Regions from separate parts of the Homo sapiens genome. Here region 2 is linked to region 1. Evidence: promoter capture Hi-C in human tissues and cell types (Jung and others, 2019). All regions are on one chromosome and are shown on one strand. Each heading gives the region's core, a stretch centred on a gene start or on the middle of the fragment in contact. The rest is flanking DNA. Distances are from core to core; before and after follow the strand shown.

The links. Contacts are between HindIII fragments. The study calls those that stand out against the background at their distance.
Region 2: a contact is called between a fragment that was not itself captured here and the fragment with the promoter of TASP1 in region 1, in 1 of the 25 tissues and cell types used here (mesendoderm cells).

The regions. Positions count from the first base shown.
Region 1 is chr20:13,635,752-13,641,412 of GRCh38, forward strand. TASP1 (taspase 1) reads right to left here and starts at 3,181. Exons shown (of 14, transcript NM_017714.3): 1 at 3,143-3,181. RefSeq lists enhancers at 2,538-3,038, 2,652-2,741 and a silencer at 2,932-3,081. The HindIII fragment of the contact is 12,335 bases long and covers 1-5,661 here.
Region 2 is chr20:13,271,690-13,277,350 of GRCh38, forward strand. The region is part of intron 2 of ISM1 (isthmin 1); the gene reads left to right. It also overlaps a transcript of TASP1 not described here. Among named protein-coding and RNA genes, the nearest start is that of ISM1-AS1, 35 kb to the left of the region's middle. The HindIII fragment of the contact is 5,313 bases long and covers 1-5,293 here.

The DNA of each region.
Region 1 (5,661 bases), core at 1,931-4,430:
CCTAACTTTATCTTCTGTCTTACCTATAGCCACAAGTTTTATGGATAGCTCAATCTAGGTCCACCTCACTCTTGGCCTAACCAAAACACGCTCTGCAGGGACTTTCATGGCACTAATTTAAGGTCTAAATCTTGCCTCATCTCTCTAAAAGATGGTTTTATTTTCCTACTGTATGTGATGACACTGTTTTTTTTTCTTACACCACTTTGAAAACTACCACGTCCTGTTGCTGTGGTGTTAAAGTTTTTCACCGTAGGTTTGCTTATTCTTTAAGAAGCAGTTGAAAAAGGAAGTAAGTCATGGAATTCATCCATCTTACAGCAAAGGGCTTTGATAGAAATCCAGCCCTTAAGCTATTACAACTCATGAATAAATAATTGTGTTGTTGCTTTTTTTTTTTTTTTTTTTTTTTGAGACAGAGTCTCACTCTGTCACCCAGGCTGGAGTGCAGTGGCATGATCTGAACTCACTGCAATCTCTGCCTCCCAGGTTCAAGCGATTCTTGTGTCTCAGCCTCCTGAGTAGCTGGAATTACAGGCGCAGGCCACCATGCCGGGCTAATTTTTTTTTTTTTTTTTTTGTATTTTTAGTAGAGACGGGGTTTCACTATGTTGGTCAGGCTGGTCTTGAACTCCTGACCTCAAATGATCCGCCTGCCTGGGCCTCCCAAAGTGCTGGGATTACAGGCGTGAGCCACCACACCCAGCCTTGTGTTGTTGCTTTTAACATCGTGATATTGAAGGTTTAATGCCTCATTAAATGAACTCCAGGACATACTTAAATTCATCTTCTAACCAGTAATTCCACTTCTGAGAAAACTTTCTACCAAAATAACTAAATAGAGAAAAGGTTTTATGCCTTTTATACCATGTTTAACACAGGATAATTTAGAATAACAAAAATCTGGGAGCAACCTAAATGTCCAATACAGAAAAACGGTTAAGAAAACAATAACCTACACTTTTATGATCAACTGATTTTCAACAAGAGTGTTGAAATGGTTTCTACCATTCAATGGAGGAAAGGACAGTCCTTTCATCAAATGATGCTAGAACTGGATAGCCACATGCAATAGAATGAAACTGAACTCCTACCTCACATCATACAGAAAAATTAACTCTAAATATCCTCCCTATTGCACTTGACAAGTCTTTGAAAAAAAAATTCTAAGTAGATAAAGGACACCATTCAAGAAAGTAAAAGGACAACCCATAAAATGGGAGAAAACGCAAGAAAATATTGCAAATCATGTATCTGGAAAGGGACTTACATTTAGAATATAGAAAGAACTCATACAACTTTAATATAAGACAATTCAATTTAAAAATGGGCAAAGGAATTAAATGGACATTTCTCCAAAGATATACAAAGGGTCAATAAGCACATTAAAAGATGCTCAACATTATTAGCCATCAGGGAAATGCAAATCAACACTACAATGAGCTACCACTTTATAAGCACTAAGACTGCTATAACCAAAAAGAAAGATAAGTGCTCCCAAGGATATGAAAAAATCAGAACCCTTATAACCTGCTGGTGGGAATGTAAAATGGTGCAACCAGTTTGGAAAACATTTGGCACTCACTCAAAAAGTTAAACATAGAGTTACCATATGCCCACCAATTCCACTTCTAGGTATATACTCAAGAGAACTGAAAACGTATGTCCATACAAAAACTTGTACACAGATGTTTATAGCAGAATTATTCAAAATAGCCAAAAAGTAGAAACAACCTAAATGTCCATCGACCGATGATGGTTAAGCAAAATGTGGCATATTCACACAATGGAACATTACCCATCCATAAAACAGAATGAAATACTGATACACAGACATTGATGAACCTTGAAAACATACTAACTGAAAGACACCAGACAAGTGAGGCCATATATTCTATGATTCCATTTATATGAAATGCCAGTATAGGAAAATCCATAGATACAGAAAGTAGATTAGTGGTTACAAGGCCTGGGAGAGAAAGCAGAGAATCTAATGGGGAGTGACTGTCATGAGTATAGGATTTCTTTTGGGGGTGATGAAAATGTTCTGAAAGTAGATAGTGGTGATGGGTGCACAACTTTGCGATATGAGAAAAAGCACTGAAATTTACAATTTTAAAGAATAAATTTTATGGTGCATGAATACCTTAATAAGACTTTCTCAAGAGGAAAAAAGACAATCTATCCGTGCAATGAACACAATGTATGTAACTATGCCTCTTAGTTATAACCGTATTTTACACGCATACATTATGATCACAAATAGGTTAATATGAATAAAATATTAGAAAAAAGATCAAAATGCTGGGTTGGCAGAACTATAGGTGATCTCTTCATAACTATTTCTGCATTTTCCAGATGTTCCTTAGTAAGCACTGCTTTTTGTAAGTGGTGGGGAAAAGTTTTATTTACAACAAAAAAGATAAATTATTAAACTCCTAAGAATATAAGTAAAAATTCCTTCGCTAATAAAGAATAATAATAATTCAGCAATCTAATGGCCCCTAACACACCTTTCCTTCCCCTCCCCTACAGAAGCCAGGAAAGTTGAACTCTCTCCTTCCGGAAACACGATACCCTCGATTTCCAGGACATCTCTAGCTCCTGCTTTCCCCCCCTCCTCTCCAGCTGCTCCATCTTCTCGGTCCTTTCCTCCTCCTCTTCTTCCTCCTCCTCCTCCCCCTGAGTAGTAAGTGCTAACGACCCGCAGGACTCTCATCAGGCCTCTATTACTAAGTAAGGGGCTGCCTTACCCCCAACCCGCCACCCAGGACAAGGCGCACATTCTCGGCTGTCTGCGAACCTCGGACTCTGAGACATCTCCAGCCTGAGACTGCAAAGTGGGTGAAGAACTGCGAGAACTCCCCACATACAGACAGTACTTCCCCGGTGGCCACGAGGACGCCAAGCCGGAGATGAGGCTGGGAAGGGGGACGACGGGGCCGCCTAGAGCGACCAAGACTAGGGAACTAGGGACATCCTGGCCCCCTCCTCTAGCCCCGCCCGGGGCAAGGGGTGTCCTGCGCGCCGCCCCCTCTCGGACCCGGAGAGGACGTCCCAGCTAGCGTACGGGGCCCACACACAGAGGCAGCAGCGCGGAGGCGGCAGCGGCGCGGACAGCGTGGGAAAGAGGGACACTCACCCGCTTCAGCCCCGAGCCTTCACTGCACCGGAAGTAGTCACCCGCCCGTTGCCAGGGTGAGGAAGCGGGGCTGACATCAAGTCTCCCCATTGGTCATTCGGGGTACCACGTGGTCGGAAGCAGCCTCCCACAAGCGGCTCTGACTCCGCCCTCCGCTTCGGAGCGGCTCACCTGGCCTCAGAGGTGCAGCGCTAACTCCACCTGGGGCTTCGTTCTGAGCTGCGCATGCGCTATTGCTTATCTCTACCCACCCCGCCCCTGAATAAGCCCGCAGGATGTGATTATATCTGAGTGGTTGATTGACTAATACTGTGATGAGAAATGAAATTAAACTGACCATCATTTTATCTAGGTGTCGCTTAAGAGTTACTTTCTTTCAATCCTTAGAGCACTGTTAGACGGTAGGGAAAACTAAGGTTCAGCCTGCATTGCTTGTAGGAGTTGGGGCACGAGCCTTGCCCAGGGGGAAGGAGTGTAGGCGGTCTTTTATCGGCTAGGATGTAAGACCGAAACCCAGTCATGGGTTTTGATGACCCATGACTGATGGATTTTCCTTATACTTCCACCAAAACATCACGTCGAACTGAATGTAAAGGCAGAAATGAGAATCTAACTGGCTTCTTTAAGCCAGCTATAGAGGAATTTACACTAATGCAAAAGATAACACTTTTCTTACCACATTTTTTTGTTTTTGGAAAATATTTATTCTTCATTAAAATGTCTTAATTATATTAACACATAATGGTTTATTATTGTTATTTTAAATAACTTTTTAACATTTCAGTTTTTTGTTGGTTTTTTTCTTTTTTTTTTGGAGATGGAGTTTCACTCTGTCAACCAGGCTGGAGTGCAATGGCACGATCTCGGCTCACTGCAACCTCTGCCTCCCGGGCTCAAGCGATTCTCCTGCCTCAGACTCCTGAGTAGCTGGGATTACAGGCGCTCGATACACACCCGACTAATTTTTTGTATTTTTAGTAGAGACGGGTTTTCACCATGTTTGCCATGCTGGTCTCGAACTCCTGACCTCAGGTGATCCTACTGCCTTGGCCTCCCAAAGTTCTGGGATTACTGGCGTGAGCCACCGCACCCAGCCACATTTCAGCTTTGTATTCAATTTTTAATATAGTAAATATTAATAGATGTAACCCACAGAAACAAAAGCTTTGGAGTGTTCTCTACTATTTTGGGGAGTATAAAGGTATGCTGAAACCAAAAAGTTCGAGAACCACTGATACCATTATTATAAATATAACCTATGTGGTTTTATTATGTAACTTGGGGCTTTTTTTCTTTCTCTTCTACCACTGACTTCTTAGGGAGGGGCAAGGGGAAGAAGTTTATTACATAGTAAGAATAACAGTTTATTACATAGCAATAGTAACTGAAACCGATTTTGTTACCTAGAAGTAGGATGGATATTATAACAAAACATAACATAATAACATCATAAAAGTAAAACGTGTGGCACTGGCTTTGGAACTAGGTGAAGCAGCAAGAGCAGGAAGGGATCCAAAGTATTAACAAGAGTCTAAAAGGACTTGAGGAAGCTGCCAATGAGGGCTTAAAGGGAGCTAAGGAAGATGTTATTGGAAGCTGGAGAAAATGGGGCCCTTGTTATATAGTGCCAGAAAGTTTGGCCCAGGCATTAGGAAGCAGACATAAACCATCCCCATTGTGACCTTTCTGAATTCCTCACCCGCAGAATCCATCAGCATAATAAAATAGTTGTTCTTTTGCACCTTTAAAGTGGATTTTTACACAGCAATATTAACTGGAACCAGCAGGAATAAAAGAAAGATGTTAAAGTTTTAAAAAGACATAGACATGCTCCCTTCCATTTCTTAGGCAACATTCTTCCTGGAATTTAACTACATTGTAATAATCATCTCCCAGTGCTGCTCTGTATACTTTTGTCTTGGGTATCACACCCAGATGCCACACAGGCCATCCTCTGGTAGGTGAATACTGCTCAAGTAAAAGTAACAAAATTCTTCGGACCCTTTTTTTTATTATTATTATTGAGGCAGAGTCTCACTCTGTTGCCCAGGCTAGAATGCAGTGGTGCGATCTCAGCTCACTGCAACCTCTGCCTCCCCGGTTCAAGTGATTCTCCTGCCTCAGCCTCCCCAGTGGCTGGGATTACAGGTGCCCGTGACCACGCCCGGCTAATTTTTGTCTTTTTAGTAAAGATGGGGTTTTGTCATGCTGGCCAGGCTGGTCTCGAGCTCCTGACCTTAGGTGATCCACCCATCTCGGCCTCCCAAAGTGCTGGGATTACAGGCATGAACCACCATGCCCAGCCCAGACCCAAGTTTTAACATTTTTAACCTGCATTGGGTACAGTAACAATGAGATCCTTTGAAATATTAATAACGAACAGTTGTAATATCTATTTGATTAACTCAACATGTTAAATTTGAAAGGAAAGTCTATACTAGTAAATCTCCTTCAGAAAAAATCTGGTTGCCTCCCTCTTCCTGTTCCCACCTCTCCCAAACCCGGAAAAGCAGCAAGCT
Region 2 (5,661 bases), core at 1,387-3,886, 360 kb before region 1:
CCTCCCAAAGATGGTCCCCATGATGGTTGAGAGAGGCTCATCCCCCGGGCAACCCAGCCCCTATCCAACTCTCGTCCTCATATGCCTGCTTCCATATTTTTTTTAAAGATGGCCTCACTCAGTCACCCAGGTTAGAATACAATGGCACGATCATAGCTTACTGCATGCAGCCCCTACCTCCCAGGCTCAAGCGATCCTCCCACCTCAGCCTCCCGAGTAGCTGGAACTTCAAGTGTGTGCCCCCACATCCAGCTCATTTTTTAATTTTTTGTAGAAACAGGGTTTTGCCATATCGCTCAGGCTGGGCTCAAACTCCTGGGCTCAAGCGATCCCCCTGCCTCAGCCTGCCAAAGTGCTGGGATTACAAGTATGAGCCACCACAGCCAGCCCATACTTGTAAGCTTTGCTTCCAATTCTTTCTATTTGTATAGGTGCACCTTTTCTGTACTTTTTCCTCTCTGGACCAAATGCCAATTTGCTTACATAGCAGAAAGTTCCTGAACTTGGACTCAGACCAATTGATCCTTCATTAACTGCCTCTCTCTCCACAGACTAACACCCTCTGCATGATACGGTTTTAGATCAGGTTTCGTTGACCTGAGTTGTTTTGCTCTTAACACCAGCATCATGGGAGCACGCAAATCTCACTGAGAACACTTGGAATACCAACCCCCGCTGTATATAAAATGCTGCATTAGGTTATAGGAAATTGAAAAATGTAAGACCTGTTCCCTCCAATAAATTAGATCTGTGTGAAGATCCCAGCTACCACATAAAACAGTGCTGGAGGGATCATGAAGACAGAGGAGGAAAAGCACTGTGTCCCAAGGGGGTGGATCTCAATAGGTGGAAAGAAGTCGGACAGGCTCTATTGATGGCACAGAGTGACAAATATTTTGGAGGTCACTCTTTGACAACCCATGCACAGAAATCACTACAAGCCCCAGTTAAAATTTCTGGTGAGTCTTGTATTGTTTTAATTGATAAATTGGAAAAACAGGCCTTTGGCTCCAATGGCCCCTCTCCAGGGACTGGCCACGTGGTGTGATAAAGAGCAATGGAACCCTTTGGAATAGGTGCAGATTGGCAAGGAAGGCACTGACTTCATACCGTTGCTCAACCTTGTTTCCTATCATGGCTCATCCATGTGTTTATAGATGTTCTGGTTCCAGAATCAGGCAGTTCTCATCCCAAGGGTGTTTAGGCCATGCCCAAAACAATCTGAAGCCTGCTGTGGCTAGCGCTTTTTCCCAGAGGTGGGAATGTCACTTGGGGCATAATGCTGAGGACTGAGCTATAATATCAGTGTAATTGATTTAAGAATTACTAACGCAAAGTCATAGGAAAATGCCTGGATGCGGGAGAACGGAAGGCTGCCGGGGACTGTTCCTTCATTGGAAAGTTATTGGCTGCTTTGTGCTTGAACCCAATTTCAGACAGAACTTCTTGGGATCCCCTTTCTGTCTTCTAGATAAATCCATCTGTCTGAAAATTCCCATTCCCTACCTAGACCTCACTTGGGTCTTTTTTATTTTATTTTATTTTATTTTATTTTATTTTATTTTGACAAGGTCTTTCTTTGTCACCTATGCTACGGTACAGTTGTGCAATCATGGCTTGTTGAGGCCTTGAACTCCTGGGCTCAAGTGATCCTCCTACCTCAGCCTCCTGAGTAGCTGGGACTACAGGTGTGAGCCACCATGCCTAGCTAATCTTTTTTATTTTTTGAAGAGACCAGGCCTCACTGTGTTGCCCAGGCTGGTCTCAAACTCCTGGCCTCAAGTAATTTTCCTGCCTCAGCCTCTCAAAATGCGGGGATTATAGACATGAGTCACTGCAACTGACCTGTCTTTTAAAAATATTACTTAAATATTAGGGAAAAGCTATAGCGTAAAGGCTGAAAGGCAGTTGGGACTCCCAGAGCTGGGAACCCCAGTTACCCTTTGTACAGCAAAGATCACCGTAACTCCCAAGAATAAAGGTTTACCATAGCTCCAGATGTGAATGTTATTGGCCAAATGGATTAAAAATTAATGCGGCTCCAGCCTAGCTACTGTCAAAGTCAACAAATCAAAAAGAGTAAGCCAACAATACATTTTTGCCTACTGCCCAGTCAAGTTATTCTATTTCTGCTCTATACAATCCCTATCGGTTAATTTTCTGTGAGCAATACAGAGGGGTGGAGGGTGGCCAGCATTTTATTGATCTGATGACGTTTTGGCCCTGAAGAAAATAAAATTGTGGTGCGTTTCTGGCCTTCTGTTTGTGGAAGACCACAAAATGTTAGTATTGGTCACTCAGAAAGATGTTCAAAGAAAGAATAAAACAACTGCTACCCCTGGGAGCCCCCGCCTTCTGTTGGCGTGTAATTGTGTGTGTGTGTGTGTGTATGTGTGCATGTGCATGCACACAAACACACCCACACACCACACAGCACTAGCTGCTGCAGCCCCATGCACCACTGCACTTGTGTAAACCAGTTCCCTGGTGGTCCTTTAAAACATGAGGTGCTTTCTACAAGGAGGTGATGGTTTCCGTGTTGGCAGCCCTCACCCCTTCCTCAGAGCACTGTTCTTTTGTTGAAATCCACTGGTTTGACACAGGGCCGATTCAGCCCAGCAGACAGCCCTGCTGGTCCCTGACGGTCCCTGCCGGCCCCGTCAAAGCATTCCCTCTCCCTGGGTAGCAGAGTGAAGTCAGGTGAGGGGCCCTTCAGTAGGTCAGCTTCCGCTGCCAGGGCTCCTGGCCTCATCTGCCCCTTCCCCTGGCAACCTGCCTTTGCCCCCATCTGGTTCTCCCTAGCTGGAGCCTGGGAGCTGAATGGGAACTTGATACCCGCCTTCCCCTCCGCACCTCCCCACCCCTTCAGGCTCTGGAAGTGTTTCCCACGCTCCAGGGCTAAGGAAACAGCCTGCACCTTTCCAAAGTGACATCGCTAAGCCCATGCAAGAGTCCACGTCCCGCCCCCTCTCCACTCCCCGCCCCCCCCGCGCCCGGCCCCCGGGCCTCTTGACTTTCAGGATAGGAAATCCTTCTAAAAGCCCCAACACCTGCTTCTGCAGAGCATTTTAACTCCCAGAAGTCAGGCAGCCTCGGTCCCAAGTGAATCAGACAATTCTATTTTAAGACTGGCTTCAAGCTGTGGAAGTGAGGAGGGGAAGAAAATGCGCAAAATAGAACAAAAATGGTCTCAGACTACTAAACTGAGTCTCCATATGAAATTTAAAACAATATAAGAGGTTGGGTTTTATCAAAAACAAAAATCATTCAGGAAAGAAAGTAAATCCCCCAGAACAAGTTAGACTTTGGTATCCTTGGCTGGGTTTTCAGTCTGCAGCTGATAGTCAGATATCAGAGACAAAAATCTCTGAAATAAATGCACTGTTAGGCTTACTACATTGGTTCATTACTACACTAGCTATTCACAACCAAAATATTCTCTTTTCTGGATCAAGTTGAGATTAGTATTCATTTCAACCCATATATTTATTTCTTTTCTCCCATTAAGACGGACTTAAAAATAGTCATGTAAAGGCCTTTTTTTCCTTGCACAGACATATTAACATGGCCACAGGCCTCTTGAGCGCCACAAGATACAATCAGATGAGTTGGCCAGGGTTACAGTTGTACGTGCTTCTACTTTTGATTTTGCCTCCTCCTTTTTCTCTAAAATACTTTTAGAGGAATGGCAGGTCTGGCTGGATAAGAATCAAGAAATTTCTCTGCCCAAGACATGGACCCATGCCCCTATAGAGACAAGCCTGTTCGGCTCAGATTCTCATGGGGTACTGCTGCCAATATATGGAGGCAGATTGGCTTGTGTTTGGGATCAGGCACCACCATTTAGTCAGCCAGACTTGACCTCCGTAGCCCCATGCGGGTTACTGGATGTCTTTGTGCCTCAGTTTCCTTGTCTATAAAATTGGAATGACAATACTACATATGAGCAGCTATGTAGTATAATACTATATATAAGTGTGATTATCTGTGAGGATTCAATGAGATCATCCATATGAAGTGCTTAGCACAGGGCCCAGTATAGGATAAGCTTCCTAGAACGGATAGATGCTCGTTGGTGATGATATTGGAGATGAAGATGACAAAGGAAATGTACAAAAAATTAATTGGGAATCAGAAGAACTGGTTCAGAGACCAACACTACATCTTCCTTGCTGTTTACCTCGGGACCTTGAATTCTCCAAGCCAGTTTCCGTCCCTGAAAATTGAGTCTAAGTTGTGTAGAAGGGACAGTAATGCCTAGATTGGCGTGCTGCAAGTCTCAAAGCAGTAACTACAGTTAGCTGGGGTTGCCACCCTTGTTCTTAGAGCATCAGCAGGTGTGAGAAGAGGGAATTAGATATCTTCCTAGTCCATTTTGTGTTCTTTCCATGGCAGTTATCGAGGAAGAAGGGGTAGAATAATCTGGATTTAAAACCCTTGTTGGAGACAGGTCCTTCAATGCTCTGTGCTCCTGAGGAAATCCTTTTCCTCTCTGGAAAATACCTGCCCACTCCCACCAGTTTCCACAGCTCACAAGGCTTAGAGGACCAACAAGCAAGAAGGCTTTCCTGAGTTTGAAGAGCATGGCCTCTGTATTCTCAGTGGCGTTGGTTTATTATCACCTAGACTGAGAATGGTGTGGGTTTCCCTATGGGAAGTGCATTTCCGAGCAAGAATCAAGAGTTTGCTTCTAGTCAATGTATTAATTTTCAAGAGAAGGAAAGCTGATCAAGGTGCATTGGAACTTTTCCTCGTTTCCTAAGACAGAATTATCGAAATGGGCACTTCTTTTGGACTCTCTTTCTTGGAGCTGGGGAGATTGTGCCAGAAATTGAACTTGAGGCTTTTGAAAGAGTTCCCTTTCTTTTATCATCATGACTTGAGTGTGAAAAAGTCCAGAAGAAAAAAATATACTAAGACACTTCAATTATGTGTGTTAAGGATGAGAAAGGACGGTAAGATCTAGAGACTTTGTCAGTTTGGAAATCTGTGCTCACTCCACACCTACAGTTCATCACATTGATCATTGTTCAAGACATCTTTATCAACGGATTCTTTGATGCTAAAAAGCATGTAAATAGAATGAGAGCAATAGGAAACATAAAACGAGCCCTCGCCATTGGAGAAGTCATTGATCACACTCATTAAGTCTTTTTAATTGGATGCCTATGAAACCTCAGGCTCAAGATTAGATTTCTTCTTTTGATATCAGCATGAGGTTTTCACTTTGTTAACTGTAGGGAAGGGTGCGGTGGATCCTAAGATTTGTTGTTTTGTGTTTTGTTTTTGTTTTAGTTCAGTTGAGGCAGTGGCTAGCAATTAAGGGGAAAAATAAACCTCTAAGTGTTGAGATTTAGTCATCGATATAGCTTTTGGAGTAAATTTGTATTTTGCTACTCATTGCCTGGCCAGGCAACAAGTCTATTTTGTTTGGATCTGAGCAGCAGTTTGGAGAAAAAAAAAATCATATTGACGGTAATAGCTTGAAACATGAAATTGTTTTTATTCCCAGCTTGGAGAAATTGCAGGGCACGTTTTGTTTAAGCAATCCCTTTGACTCCAGTCTGAATACAAATGGAATACCAAAAGTGTTGGGCACATTCCCTCTTATCTCCTACCCAGAGACTGATTTCATTACCATAATTGTGGGCTTGCCTGGCT